Regions from separate parts of the Homo sapiens genome. Here regions 2, 3, 4 and 5 are each linked to region 1. Evidence: promoter capture Hi-C in human tissues and cell types (Jung and others, 2019). All regions are on one chromosome and are shown on one strand. Each heading gives the region's core, a stretch centred on a gene start or on the middle of the fragment in contact. The rest is flanking DNA. Distances are from core to core; before and after follow the strand shown. Region 1 holds the start of TTR (transthyretin). Region 2 has its middle 6.6 kb from the start of RNF138. Region 3 overlaps TRAPPC8 (trafficking protein particle complex subunit 8). Region 4 has its middle 14 kb from the start of DSG1. Region 5 overlaps TRAPPC8 (trafficking protein particle complex subunit 8).

Region 1 (2,559 bases), core at 60-2,559:
TTATAAGGACAAAAACCTGCCTTAGTTTATCCATGAACAAAGCCACGCATGCTAGTGGACACACACACACATGCGCGTGCGCGCGCACACACACACACACACACATACACACAGAGACTTTGTATGTGAGTAATGAATCATCAAATCATCATAATTTCTGGACTTGTATTAATAAGTCGGCCAGGAGGAAAAGAATCTGCTGTCAATCATGGCTTCTGGTTCTCACAGTCATCTCTACTTTCTTCCAGCAAGTTTGGTTCTGTCAAAAACCAGCTGTCAGCCTTGTTCCTGCATGCCCAATGCAGAAGAGTCAGTAAAGAAGATTTGGTTCTCTGTATTTCAGGGGCATCAATGCCAGGTTGAAATATGCCATTCTGGCCCAGCTCAGTGGCTCACACGTGTAATCCCAGCACTTTGGAAGGCCAAAGCGGGTGGATTGCTTGAGCTCAGGAGTTCGAGACCAGCCTGGGCAAGAGGCTGAGGTGGGAGGATGACCTGAGCCCGGGAGGTCAAGGCTGCAGCGAGCTGTGATCGTGCCACTGCACTCGAGCCAGGGCGTTGGAGTGAGACCCTGTCAAAAAAAAAAAAAAAAAGGAAGGAAAAAAGGAAGGAAGGAAGGGAGGGAGGGAAGATGCCATTCTTAGATTGAAGTGGACTTTATCTGGGCAGAACACACACACACATACACACATGCACACACACATTGTGGAGAAATTGCTGACTAAGCAAAGCTTCCAAATGACTTAGTTTGGCTAAAATGTAGGCTTTTAAAAATGTGAGCACTGCCAAGGGTTTTTCCTTGTTGACCCATGGATCCATCAAGTGCAAACATTTTCTAATGCACTATATTTAAGCCTGTGCAGCTAGATGTCATTCAACATGAAATACATTATTACAACTTGCATCTGTCTAAAATCTTGCATCTAAAATGAGAGACAAAAAATCTATAAAAATGGAAAACATGCATAGAAATATGTGAGGGAGGAAAAAATTACCCCCAAGAATGTTAGTGCACGCAGTCACACAGGGAGAAGACTATTTTTGTTTTGTTTTGATTGTTTTGTTTTGTTTTGGTTGTTTTGTTTTGGTGACCTAACTGGTCAAATGACCTATTAAGAATATTTCATAGAACGAATGTTCCGATGCTCTAATCTCTCTAGACAAGGTTCATATTTGTATGGGTTACTTATTCTCTCTTTGTTGACTAAGTCAATAATCAGAATCAGCAGGTTTGCAGTCAGATTGGCAGGGATAAGCAGCCTAGCTCAGGAGAAGTGAGTATAAAAGCCCCAGGCTGGGAGCAGCCATCACAGAAGTCCACTCATTCTTGGCAGGATGGCTTCTCATCGTCTGCTCCTCCTCTGCCTTGCTGGACTGGTATTTGTGTCTGAGGCTGGCCCTACGGTGAGTGTTTCTGTGACATCCCATTCCTACATTTAAGATTCACGCTAAATGAAGTAGAAGTGACTCCTTCCAGCTTTGCCAACCAGCTTTTATTACTAGGGCAAGGGTACCCAGCATCTATTTTTAATATAATTAATTCAAACTTCAAAAAGAATGAAGTTCCACTGAGCTTACTGAGCTGGGACTTGAACTCTGAGCATTCTACCTCATTGCTTTGGTGCATTAGGTTTGTAATATCTGGTACCTCTGTTTCCTCAGATAGATGATAGAAATAAAGATATGATATTAAGGAAGCTGTTAATACTGAATTTTCAGAAAAGTATCCCTCCATAAAATGTATTTGGGGGACAAACTGCAGGAGATTATATTCTGGCCCTATAGTTATTCAAAACGTATTTATTGATTAATCTTTAAAAGGCTTAGTGAACAATATTCTAGTCAGATATCTAATTCTTAAATCCTCTAGAAGAATTAACTAATACTATAAAATGGGTCTGGATGTAGTTCTGACATTATTTTATAACAACTGGTAAGAGGGAGTGACTATAGCAACAACTAAAATGATCTCAGGAAAACCTGTTTGGCCCTATGTATGGTACATTACATCTTTTCAGTAATTCCACTCAAATGGAGACTTTTAACAAAGCAACTGTTCTCAGGGGACCTATTTTCTCCCTTAAAATTCATTATACACATCCCTGGTTGATAGCAGTGTGTCTGGAGGCAGAAACCATTCTTGCTTTGGAAACAATTACGTCTGTGTTATACTGAGTAGGGAAGCTCATTAATTGTCGACACTTACGTTCCTGATAATGGGATCAGTGTGTAATTCTTGTTTCGCTCCAGATTTCTAATACCACAAAGAATAAATCCTTTCACTCTGATCAATTTTGTTAACTTCTCACGTGTCTTCTCTACACCCAGGGCACCGGTGAATCCAAGTGTCCTCTGATGGTCAAAGTTCTAGATGCTGTCCGAGGCAGTCCTGCCATCAATGTGGCCGTGCATGTGTTCAGAAAGGCTGCTGATGACACCTGGGAGCCATTTGCCTCTGGGTAAGTTGCCAAAGAACCCTCCCACAGGACTTGGTTTTATCTTCCCGTTTGCCCCTCACTTGGTAGAGAGAGGCTCACATCATCTGCTAAAGAATTTACA
Region 2 (2,559 bases), core at 27-2,526, 490 kb after region 1:
AGAAAGATCTTTTAGCTTCAAATTTAAATGTTTCTCTCAAAGATTAAAAAACAACTGACCAGGTGCGGTGGCTTACACCTGTAATCCCAGCACTTTGGGAGGCCGACGCAGGTGGATCACCTGAGGTCAGGAGTTTGAGACCAGCCTAGCCGACTTGCTGAAACCCCATCTCTACAAAAATACAAAAATTAGCCAGGCTTGGTGGCGCATGCCTGTAATCGCAGCTACTTGGGAGGCTGAGGCAGGGGAATCGCTTGAACCCAGGAGACGGAGGTTGCAGTGAGCCGAGATAGTGCCACTGCATTCCCGCCTGTGGGATAGAGCAAGACTATGTCTCCAAACAAACAAACAAACAAACAAAAAAACAAGAACAGTGTCAAAGAAAAGTTGAAATGTGAGTTGATTTGTTGAAATCTATTCATCATTACTGGTCTACTCTAGGGCTCTGCCTCCTAGGACAGCATAGTTTATTCAGTGAAGTGACTTTAGCTGCATTCCGAATATCTGTTTCATTGTTGGTTTGCTCTCTTTCTACTGACTGATTTGTGTGTTTGGGCAAGGGAGAAGGTGGCTGCCCCACAGCTCCTGTGTTAACATGCCTTCCAAATTAAGGGATTTGATAGAGACTGACTAGAATATCAGAATCTCAGTTCCACAGTTTTGGGAGACACAGTGTGGCTATCACAAGCTGGGATTATATTCACCTCTATCCTAATCAACTGTAACATAGAGGCCAGATTCCACAGGATAAACAGGGTCACCGGGGCTACTCATATGAACATTGTTAAAAATGGAAGCTGTATAATAATACATAAAATATGGATGATATGAAATTAAATGTCATGAAAATTCATGTTCATAATGACATTTATGAAGAAGTTGAAATGTAACTGTCTCAAACTGGGGTGAATTCAAAAGATAAATTCCTTCATTTTCTATAGTTAATTTAATCTCACTTTTGAACTTCCATTTCAGCTACTTTGCAGAGGTGTGAGGAGAGAATTTAAGCTTACAATGAAAAGTAACCCAGTTCCTTGTCTTTGGGAAGGAAGAACCACTTTGCGGCATTTCTTTGTCACTTGCCTCTCCTCTCCTTCTGAACTGTTGATTCAGCTAGGAAACTGGGACAGGGGCCAATCAGGAAAGCGGAGCTTGCAAGGGTGGTTCAGTAGAGGATGATTAATATGGGAAACTAATTACAAAGACATTAAAAGAGCAGAAAGGCCAAGTTGACAGTGAAGCAAATACACAAGGCATTGAGAAAAGGAAGGGCCTGCCCAGCAGGAAGCAGGACCAAAGAAAGTGCAGCCTCACAGAAGCCAAAACCGCAGAAGAAATGAAACCACTGCCAGAAGCAGAGAGAGAGAGAGAGAGAGAGAGAGAGAGAGAGAGAGAGAGAAAGCTGGGTGAGGGGGCTCACACCTGTAATCCCAGCACTTTAAGAGGCCAAGGTGGGAGGATCACCTGAGGTCTGGAGTTTGAGACCAGCCTGACCAACATGGTGAAAGCCCATTTCTACTAAAAATACAAAAAATTAGCCGGGTGTGGCGGCGGGTGCCTGTAATCTCAGCTACTTGGGAGGCTGAGGCAGGAGAATCGCTTGAACCTGGGGGTGGAGGTTGCAGTGAGCCAAGACTGCACCATTGTACTCCAGGTTGGGCAACAAGAGTGAAACGACTTATCAAAAAAAAAAAAAAAAAAAAAAAAGAGAGAGAGAAGTAACTTGGTTTCGTTCTTCCTTCCTTCCTGATCTCTCATTGGTGCCTCGTATTGGCTGAATATAGCCAGAAGTCAGCTGGTAAGGGAAACTGGGAAACAGTTTATAAGAGTCAGCTCCAACAAAAAGAGCAGAACAACAAGGGCAGAACAGGGAAAGAGATGCAGAAAGGCAAATGCCTAGGTCAGATACTTCCAACTACAAATAACCAAAGAACCCACTGAGAATGGCTCAAACTAGAAGGTGTTTAATTAATCTTGATTAACAGATAGGAGGGAGGGCAGTTTCAGGGTTGACTAGAGTAATTGAATAATTCAAATATTAATATATCAAGAACCTATATATTCTTTCCATCTTTCAGCTTTACCACCTTCAGCACATTGGCTTTTCTTTTCACGGCTGGCTCTTTACATGGTTTCATCCTGCTTGTAGTTCCACGTAGCACATATAGACAAAGAAACATCTAGATGGGGGAGTAGATTTGTCTTTTTTTTTTTTTTTTAAGAGACAAGCTCTTGCTGTGTTGCTTAGGTAGGACTCCTGGGCTCAAGCAATCCTCCTGCCTCAGCCTCTCGAATAGCTGGGACTATAGGTGCACACCACTGCACCTAGATATTTGTGTTTTTTTTTTTTTTTTCTGAGACAGGTTCTCTGTTGTTCAGGCTGGAGTGCAGTGGAGTGATCATGGCTCACTGCAGCCTTGACCTCCCAGGCTCAACCAGTCTTCCTAACTCAGTCTCCCGAGTAGCTGGGATTACACGTGTGAGCCACCACACCATGCTAATTTCTAATTTTTTTTTTTTAAGATGGAGTTTTGCTCTTGTTGCCCAGGCTGGAGTGCA
Region 3 (2,559 bases), core at 21-2,520, 300 kb after region 1:
CCCTAATTATTGTTTCTATTTCAGAATTTCACTTAGGCCTCAACAGAGTTCAGTTTTTTAAGTGCTGTAATTTCTTAAGTCTATTCTTAGCACACTGCACATATGCATGCATACATACACACACACGAAAAAATAAAATAAAATAATATACACACACACACTTTTTTACTGCCTATGAAGCTTCACTAAACTGCAAAACCTGGATGGGCAGCAATCCTGGACATTCTCATAAGCTAAGAATATCCCCTGAGAATATTTAATGGTTTGCAAATGATTCTAACGCACAATCCAGTTAAAAACCAAAATGAGAAACCCTTAGCATTCCCAAATTTAACACTCAAGAACTGACCAACTGAAGGCAGATGTGGAAGTCCATGGCCTTCCATGGTATTAATTTGGCTGAAACAAAATTTTGACTCTTGCATGTGGAGAATCAGTTTCTAGACTGACTGAGAATCAGTTTCTAGAGCTGAATACCATGTTTTCATATCTTGGTCCAGCTTTATTCTTCATTGGACCCTGACTCTTACTGTGACACCCAAAGTGGTAAAAACATTGTTTTGAGAGGAGGAAAATTGCCCTGAAAAGAATGACAACTGGTATCAGTGTTGATGGAAGAGAAATAAAAGGATTTTTACAAAGTGATGGTTTTATCCAGAAAGCAAAGGCTTTAAATGAACTGAAAGATACAATTTTAATACAGTGGTGTATTTCATACTATCGAATAACAAGTTTTGTTTATGTTCTATAAGAAACTAAGAAAAAAAAATCTGTTGATAGCACTTCAACAAGAACTCTGGCCTATGAAAATTCTCCACAACCAAGAGATAATTTTAACAAAAGATAAAAAGATAACAATAACTTAAAATATGAGAGTATGTACAGGAAAAAAAAAATCACCTGAGGTAGAGGCCTCAATTAACATTTCAATAAAAACACAGTTGATAAAGCCACCAGTTGCAGCTAATTAACTGAATCAAACATCAAACAAAAGATGGCTCTAAGCTTTTAAGATTTCATCTCTGCATACTTGTGAAGTTAACAGGAAAGGTGCTATCAGCTGATAAATTTCCCATAAGACCAGTTACTCCTAAGCTGAAGAAACTTACAAAAAACTGGTATTAGCATCCCTAGAAACTGATTTTTCATATTTAAAATAGTAACAGAAAAAATGGGTTATAAGACCAGAATAAGTGTTCAACACAGAAACAGACACAAGTAGGTATGTCTTAAGCACCAAATTCATATACATCCTATGCGGTGATAAAGGTAGCATGTTTCACCATTAAACTGGGTTTGCTCTGCCATTCTGAGAATCCCAGGGCATAAAACAAAAAATATGATTCACTTGACCAAAAATTTGCAGTACACAAAGTCAAAGCACAGCTCCTCCTTTTGCCTAGGCCTCATTAACTATCTTTTGCTATGACGGTATTAGCAAAAATCTAGGGAACACAGCTCAGGAATGTCAAGAGTATGTAACTCAATTCTCCAGCTTCAAAACCAGTGTACATCTCTTGATATTATACAGCCTTTCTAGTTAACAAAATACATACAGTAAATGTAAATTGTTGGTAAAGATTTAACATAATTTATAAACATGCCTAATAATCATTAGTCTCAAGTTATCTCAAAGAAATTTATGAAAGGTATAGCAGAAAAGGCCATTAAGAATCACGATTTCTGGGTACGTGCACCACCACCTGCCCCCTCTCCCCACCACATGGCAGCAAATAACAATGATACATTTTCTAGACTTTCATGATAAAACAAATCATCCAGATTTGAGAAAGAAAAGTGGAAACAAAGAGTTGGAAAGAAGAGAAAAATGACAAAAAATAACACGGTTATAATGCAGACAGGAGAACTTGCTCTGAAGAAATTTTATTCACATATGTGGATAGAATGGCATATTGAAATCATTTAAGCAAGGAAGAAAAAAAGGAATTTTATTGAAGCTCCTGAACCATAAATTCTTTTTACATTCACTGATAATCCTTAGGTTGAAGAACACGGCAACACATTCAAATCCAAGTTAAGATTATTTATTATAATAGAGAATATCAAAATACTCAAAAGCCTTATTCAGCTCTACAAATAGTTTGTCTGTTATCTGTTCATATTTATTAGTCAGTGTCCATGCAATAACAATTATTAAACATTTTAAATATCACTTCTGAACCTAACTAGTTAGACCTTACAGAAACTTTTGTAGAAGAATTAATGGTTCAGTTACAACAAACACTTGTAGAGCATCTAATCCATGTGCCAAGGCCAGTGTTAGGCAACAAGAATAAAAACAGAAGGCAACACGGTTCCCTGCCCTCAAGAAGCTAACAGCTTAAGAAGCTTAAACATAATTTCCAATATAATATAATATGACAAGTCAGGTTTTACAGCATTGTATGAGAGAGAAGAACAGAGACACTTAGGACAAACAGGTGTATTAGGAAAGACTATCTGAAGTACACAACTGGTATCATGACTAGTAAATTAGGCAAAGCAAAAGGAAAAAGGCCGCAGTCCCAAAGAGAAAATATTAAGAATGAGAACTAGAAC
Region 4 (2,559 bases), core at 23-2,522, 290 kb before region 1:
CTAGTTGAAAAACCCTCCCAAGAACCAGAGCATGTTTTTAAAACCTGTTTCTTGTTGTAACTCTTGCCATAATTGCCAAAAATGATTTGCTGCTTACTGGCTGCAACTGCAATGTAATTCTTGAAGTCCCTAGCAGTAGAAAAAAATGCTATACATATATATATATATATATATATATATATATATATATATATATATATATATATATATATAACTGCTTGGGATGAAGGGATGAGGAAATAGATGGCTTTAAAAATACTAATTATTCATTCAAGAAGTTGTAATGAAGTAGAGTTTATACGGCAGTAACTGTGAGATACGGTCTAGAGAGATGCTCTAAGAACTAAAGTGGCAGAGTTTCTGAAAAAACAGTGCTTTGATTCAATTTAATTCAAAATATTTATTATGTTTACACTGGATCCCAGGCAATGGTTAGGAAGCAGAGGGAGGGACCCATGCTCCCCCACTTTAAGGCCCTTTTTACTTCTCAGGGAGCATGTACACAGGCTCTAAAGTACAGTTCCTACCATCATCAACACCGGTTCTCATGGCCACACCCTAAGCCTTAGGAAATCATTTTACTTCTATACATCTAAACTCAAATATGAAAGTTTTAGGACCACAATCTACTATCCTTCTGAAAATCTCATTCCTTTGCTTGTATTAAAAATACATATGTCTTTTGACCTCACAGACTCCGAAGTCATACTCTGCATTTCTTCAGAATTAGTCACATAAGGGATCTATTCTTTGCTTCCTTCCCTTTCCAGAACATACCCCATAGTCTGTTTGGATATTCTTGCCAATGCTCACCTCCACATAATTCTAAGTGTTTCTGGAATTCTCCAACAATCATCTATTTCCAAATTTCTTGGCTTCTTTAGGATTTAATTCCATCTTCTTAGATCTCTGAACGAAGATTGAAACATACACTTTCTTCTTGAAACTCCACTTTGCTTTCATTCATTTATCCATTAATTCAAAAATATTTATTGAGCAATATTATATGCTAGGTTCCAAGAACACAGTTTTGATTAAAACGTTTTTCTTGTTCTCATGGATATAACAATCTAGTAGTGAGGACAGAGAGTAATAATCACACAAATACCTGTAAACTTGGCAACTATGACAGATGTGAAAGAGGAGATGGACAAGGGTCCCAAGAACTCCTTCTGGACTGAATGTGGTAAAAGGTGAGACTGGAGAGTGGGCAAGTGTTAGACAATGCAGGACCTTGCAGCCCAGACGAAGGACTCTTTTTCCCCTTTATTCTAAAAGTTACCAAGAGGTGTCTTTTTTTAAAAAACAGATTGATATGCTTAGGTTTGCTCTTTGAAATTATTTTTCCACCTTTAGTGTAGTAAACAGATTGGCAGCTGGCCAGCATAGATGCAGGCCTGTCAGAAAGTTACAACAATCCTGCTGAAGGACAATAATCACCTGGCTAACATAGTGATAGTCAACATGGAAAAAAGTGAATGAACTTGACAGATATTTTGGATGTAAAAAATCAATAGACCTTGGTGATGGGTTAAAATAGAAGGGTAGGAAAAAAAGAATGTTGATAATATCTCTTGGGCTTCTCTCTTGCACAACTAGATAGATGGGGGTATTATTTTCTGGGAAGTGATCACTGGTGAAGGTGAGAATGAATTTCCAACACATTGAGTTTGAATTGTATTTGAAACTTCCAAGATAAATGTCAAGTAGGCAATTGGATGTATAGGTTTGGAGTTCAGGAGAAAAGACCTGGACCGGATAGATCTATCTATAAGTTGTTATTTGCATGAGATCACTTTTGGGAGGGACAACAAACAGGAAAGAGGGACACAGACCCAAGCTTCATGTGACGATACATTGAATGGGTGGTTAGAGAAGAATGTACTGGCGAAGAAACAGAAAAGTAACATTCAGAAAGTTGGAAAGAACGTCAGGGGAATTTCAGTGCTCTTCCTATTCTCCTCTCTTCAGGAGTCATATGGAAACTTTTTACCTTGAAGCATTGCCTTTGATTTAAATTACATTGGACTGAGCTAGTTCTATGACTTCTTTGAAGCACCTTTCTGTCTCCTTTGCTGACTCTTCTTCTTTCTAAGCAAATGTGGACAAGCCAGTTTGCTCTTCAGATATTTTCATGTCTTTCTCTTCAGCTCTCCCTAAATGATTTCCTCCACTTACGCGATTTCATTAATACCTTTAAACTGACGACTTTTATATATGCATTTTTAATCCTCATCTCTATCTTCAGATGGACAAAACATCATCTCATTGAGTTGCTGCACCAATACTATGTATGTACACTACTCCAGAAAGTCAATTATGAAGCTTAAAATATTTTTACTTTTTGTTATAAAACAAAGGCCTATTAACAGTGAACTGTAGAAATGTATCAGAAGAATAGAAAATTAAGCATACAATTATTTCTTCAGTTAACAGATTTTAGTGAATAATTCCAAAAAACTTCTATGCATATATAAAATACATCCACACAACATATTTTTATTTTTATACACAAGTGTTCACATTGGGCCCATTATTCTACATACTTGATTTTACACT
Region 5 (2,559 bases), core at 45-2,544, 270 kb after region 1:
CAACTACTTATGTCTATATCATCAAGATGAAAAGATATGCCAGATTTACTATGGGTTTTAAAGTGAAAGAATGGGCAGATCTATGATTTCATATCCATAATTTTAAAATCCAAAAAACTCCAACCTCAGGCTTTTAGTAACTCATGTGGGGGCAAAACCTGACCTAATAGAGGCTTTTTATATTCTTTCCCATTTAGTGTGATATTAATACAGTTCATGCAAGAAATATTAATGTTTGGTTACTAGGTGCTGCCACAAAGCAATGGGGTTTACATAACTTCACACACACACTTCTAAAAAAAATTTTTAAATTGATTTCCAACACACATGTGGCCTCAATATTTCAGATGAGGGATTGTGGACTTGTGCTTAAAGAGACAGAAATTTGGGCTAATGAAATCATACAGTAAGTTATCTGCATTTAAAAGATCTTTAAGTATACTGGCTGGGCACAGTGGCTGATGCCTGTAATCCCAACACTTTGGGAGGCCAGAGTTGGTGGATCCCAGAGTTGGTGGATCCCTTGAGCTCAGGAGTTCAAAACCAGCCTGGGCAACATGGTGAGACCTGTTTCTATCAAAACTACAAAAAATGAGCCGCACGCCTGTGGTTCCAGCTACTGGGGAGGCTGCAGTGGGAGGACTGCTCGAGCCCAGGAAGCAGAGGTTGCAGTGAGCCAAGATTGTGCCACTGCACTCCAGCCTGGGTGACAGAGTGAGACCCCATCTCAAAAAACAAACAAACAAACAAACAAAAAAACAGATATTTAAATGTCACAACTAACATCTAAGCAAGCAGGAAGATAAAGGTAACAATATGAGTGAAATGTTCTAATAAAGTTATAGCTGGCAGTCACTTCATGAAATTCCAGTGAAAATATGTTTTTGAATCTAAATGTGAGTGGGACTTCATTATGGCCATATTCTTAAAAAGAAAAAAATCAGATGAAATTTGGGGACATTAGAAGCTTTAAAAATAAATGAGAAAACAAGGGATTAATGTAGAAATCCCGCACATAGATTTAATAGGATAAAAAAATAAGCTAGACATAGCATTATACTGAAGACACTGACTCTCTGTACTGATTAGTCAGTGTCAAGCTTATAGTCGAGCTAAAACTTGTGGAGGAATTATTAATTTTGTTATTACATCCAACACAGCTGCATTAACAAAAAGTGAAATAGAGTATTCAGTGTGTAAAAACACACTAAAATACATAGAGACACCTAGATACCATCAAGAAGGTTACAGCATTGGTAAAATGGTAACAGTGATAGAACACATAAAAGACTAGTGGTACCAACTATGTATAGGATCACATGTACCTTCAGAACACAGGTTTACTAAATACACTATTTTGACTCTTTAAGAAGAACAAGGCCAGGCACAGTGGCTCACGCCTGTAATCCCAGCACTTTGGGAGGTGGGCAGATCACGAGGTCAGGAGTTTGAGACCAGCCTGACCAACATGGTGAAGCCCCGTCTCTACTAAAAATACAAAAATTAGCCAGGCATGGTGGTGCGCACCTGTAATCCCAGCTACTCAGGAGGCTAAGGCAAGAGAATTGCTTGAACCTGGGAGGCAGAGGTTGCAGTGAGCCGAGATTGCGCCACTGCACTCCAGCCTGGGTGACAGAGCAAGACTCCGTCTCAAAAAAAAAAAAAGAACAAGTATATTTAGCCTTTACCTCAAATGCTCAGTTGCTGAAAGTCCTTTTAAATAGTTGATATTTGTGATAGCTTCAAATATAAATGGAAAACAAGACCAAGAACTCACTATCTCACTTCTAATTTATCCTGAAGATATACATGTGTGAGTACAAAATGACATGCTTAGGATTATTCATTGTGGCTTTGCCTGTAACAGAAAATGACTAGACACAAATCAAATGGTCTAGTTGAATGATACATATATATAATAGTGCTTGTGCGTAAGAAATTAAAGGAGTTTGCTCTTTTCTCTGCTTCTCTACATGTTAAAATTATTCCTAACAGAAACAATTGTATTAAAAAAAAAAGATTTAGGGGGAAAGATTTCTAATCCACATAGCTCATTGTTTGAGTTCAGTATGCTATACACATAGTAGTATGCAAATGACTCTTATTTTTATCTTCTCTCAATGAGCTACAGTAACTTTCATTCTCACCCTTGTTTGATAAATATATATTGTTACAGATTATTTCATCATACAGTATAGATGGGTAACTACTTCTACTATTCCCTTAAACATCTCAAATTCCATAAAATATTTCTGAAATATTAGGCACAGGAATATTCTATGAATTTTTTCACCAGTTTTCATGTCTTCCACTGTCTGTCCAAATATGATAAATGGTCTATTAGCTGACTTCCATCATAATCATACCACCTTGTTGAACTAACCAACTTCCCTATTCTCTTACAAGAAAATACTGAGTGATGTTTATGGAACTGAACATCAGTGGCTTTAGGCTTTCTGTAATGCCCATCATATTCTCCTTTCAAGAGTCACTATCTATTCCCAAACTTGTTCACATAAATTAAGTATTGTGTAAACTGCTTTCATCCATAGCTGAAAG

What was found. The method cuts DNA at HindIII sites, captures the fragments that hold promoters and counts their contacts. A contact is called where the count stands out against the background at its distance.
Region 2: a contact is called between a fragment that was not itself captured here and the fragment with the promoter of TTR in region 1, in 1 of the 25 tissues and cell types used here (thymus).
Region 3: a contact is called between a fragment that was not itself captured here and the fragment with the promoter of TTR in region 1, in 5 of the 25 tissues and cell types used here (H1 embryonic stem cells, aorta, bladder and 2 more).
Region 4: a fragment that was not itself captured here is called in contact with the fragment with the promoter of TTR in region 1 in 2 of the 25 tissues and cell types used here (heart right ventricle and mesenchymal stem cells).
Region 5: a fragment that was not itself captured here is called in contact with the fragment with the promoter of TTR in region 1 in 2 of the 25 tissues and cell types used here (H1 embryonic stem cells and dorsolateral prefrontal cortex).

The regions. Positions count from the first base shown.
Region 1 is chr18:31,590,568-31,593,126 of GRCh38, forward strand. TTR (transthyretin) reads left to right here and starts at 1,310. Exons shown (of 4, transcript NM_000371.4): 1 at 1,310-1,404; 2 at 2,329-2,459. The coding sequence starts at 1,336. The HindIII fragment of the contact is 7,126 bases long and covers 1-2,559 here.
Region 2 is chr18:32,084,018-32,086,576 of GRCh38, forward strand. It overlaps a transcript of RNF125 not described here. Among named protein-coding and RNA genes, the nearest start is that of RNF138, 6.6 kb to the right of the region's middle. RefSeq lists an enhancer at 1,235-1,364. The HindIII fragment of the contact is 4,077 bases long and covers 1-2,559 here.
Region 3 is chr18:31,893,714-31,896,272 of GRCh38, forward strand. The region is part of intron 11 of TRAPPC8 (trafficking protein particle complex subunit 8); the gene reads right to left. Among named protein-coding and RNA genes, the nearest start is that of TRAPPC8, 48 kb to the right of the region's middle. The HindIII fragment of the contact is 5,022 bases long and covers 1-2,559 here.
Region 4 is chr18:31,303,244-31,305,802 of GRCh38, forward strand. No RefSeq gene overlaps it. Among named protein-coding and RNA genes, the nearest start is that of DSG1, 14 kb to the right of the region's middle. The HindIII fragment of the contact is 5,396 bases long and covers 1-2,559 here.
Region 5 is chr18:31,858,364-31,860,922 of GRCh38, forward strand. All of the region lies in intron 19 of TRAPPC8 (trafficking protein particle complex subunit 8), which reads right to left. Among named protein-coding and RNA genes, the nearest start is that of TRAPPC8, 83 kb to the right of the region's middle. RefSeq lists a silencer at 2,529-2,559. The HindIII fragment of the contact is 3,368 bases long and covers 1-2,559 here.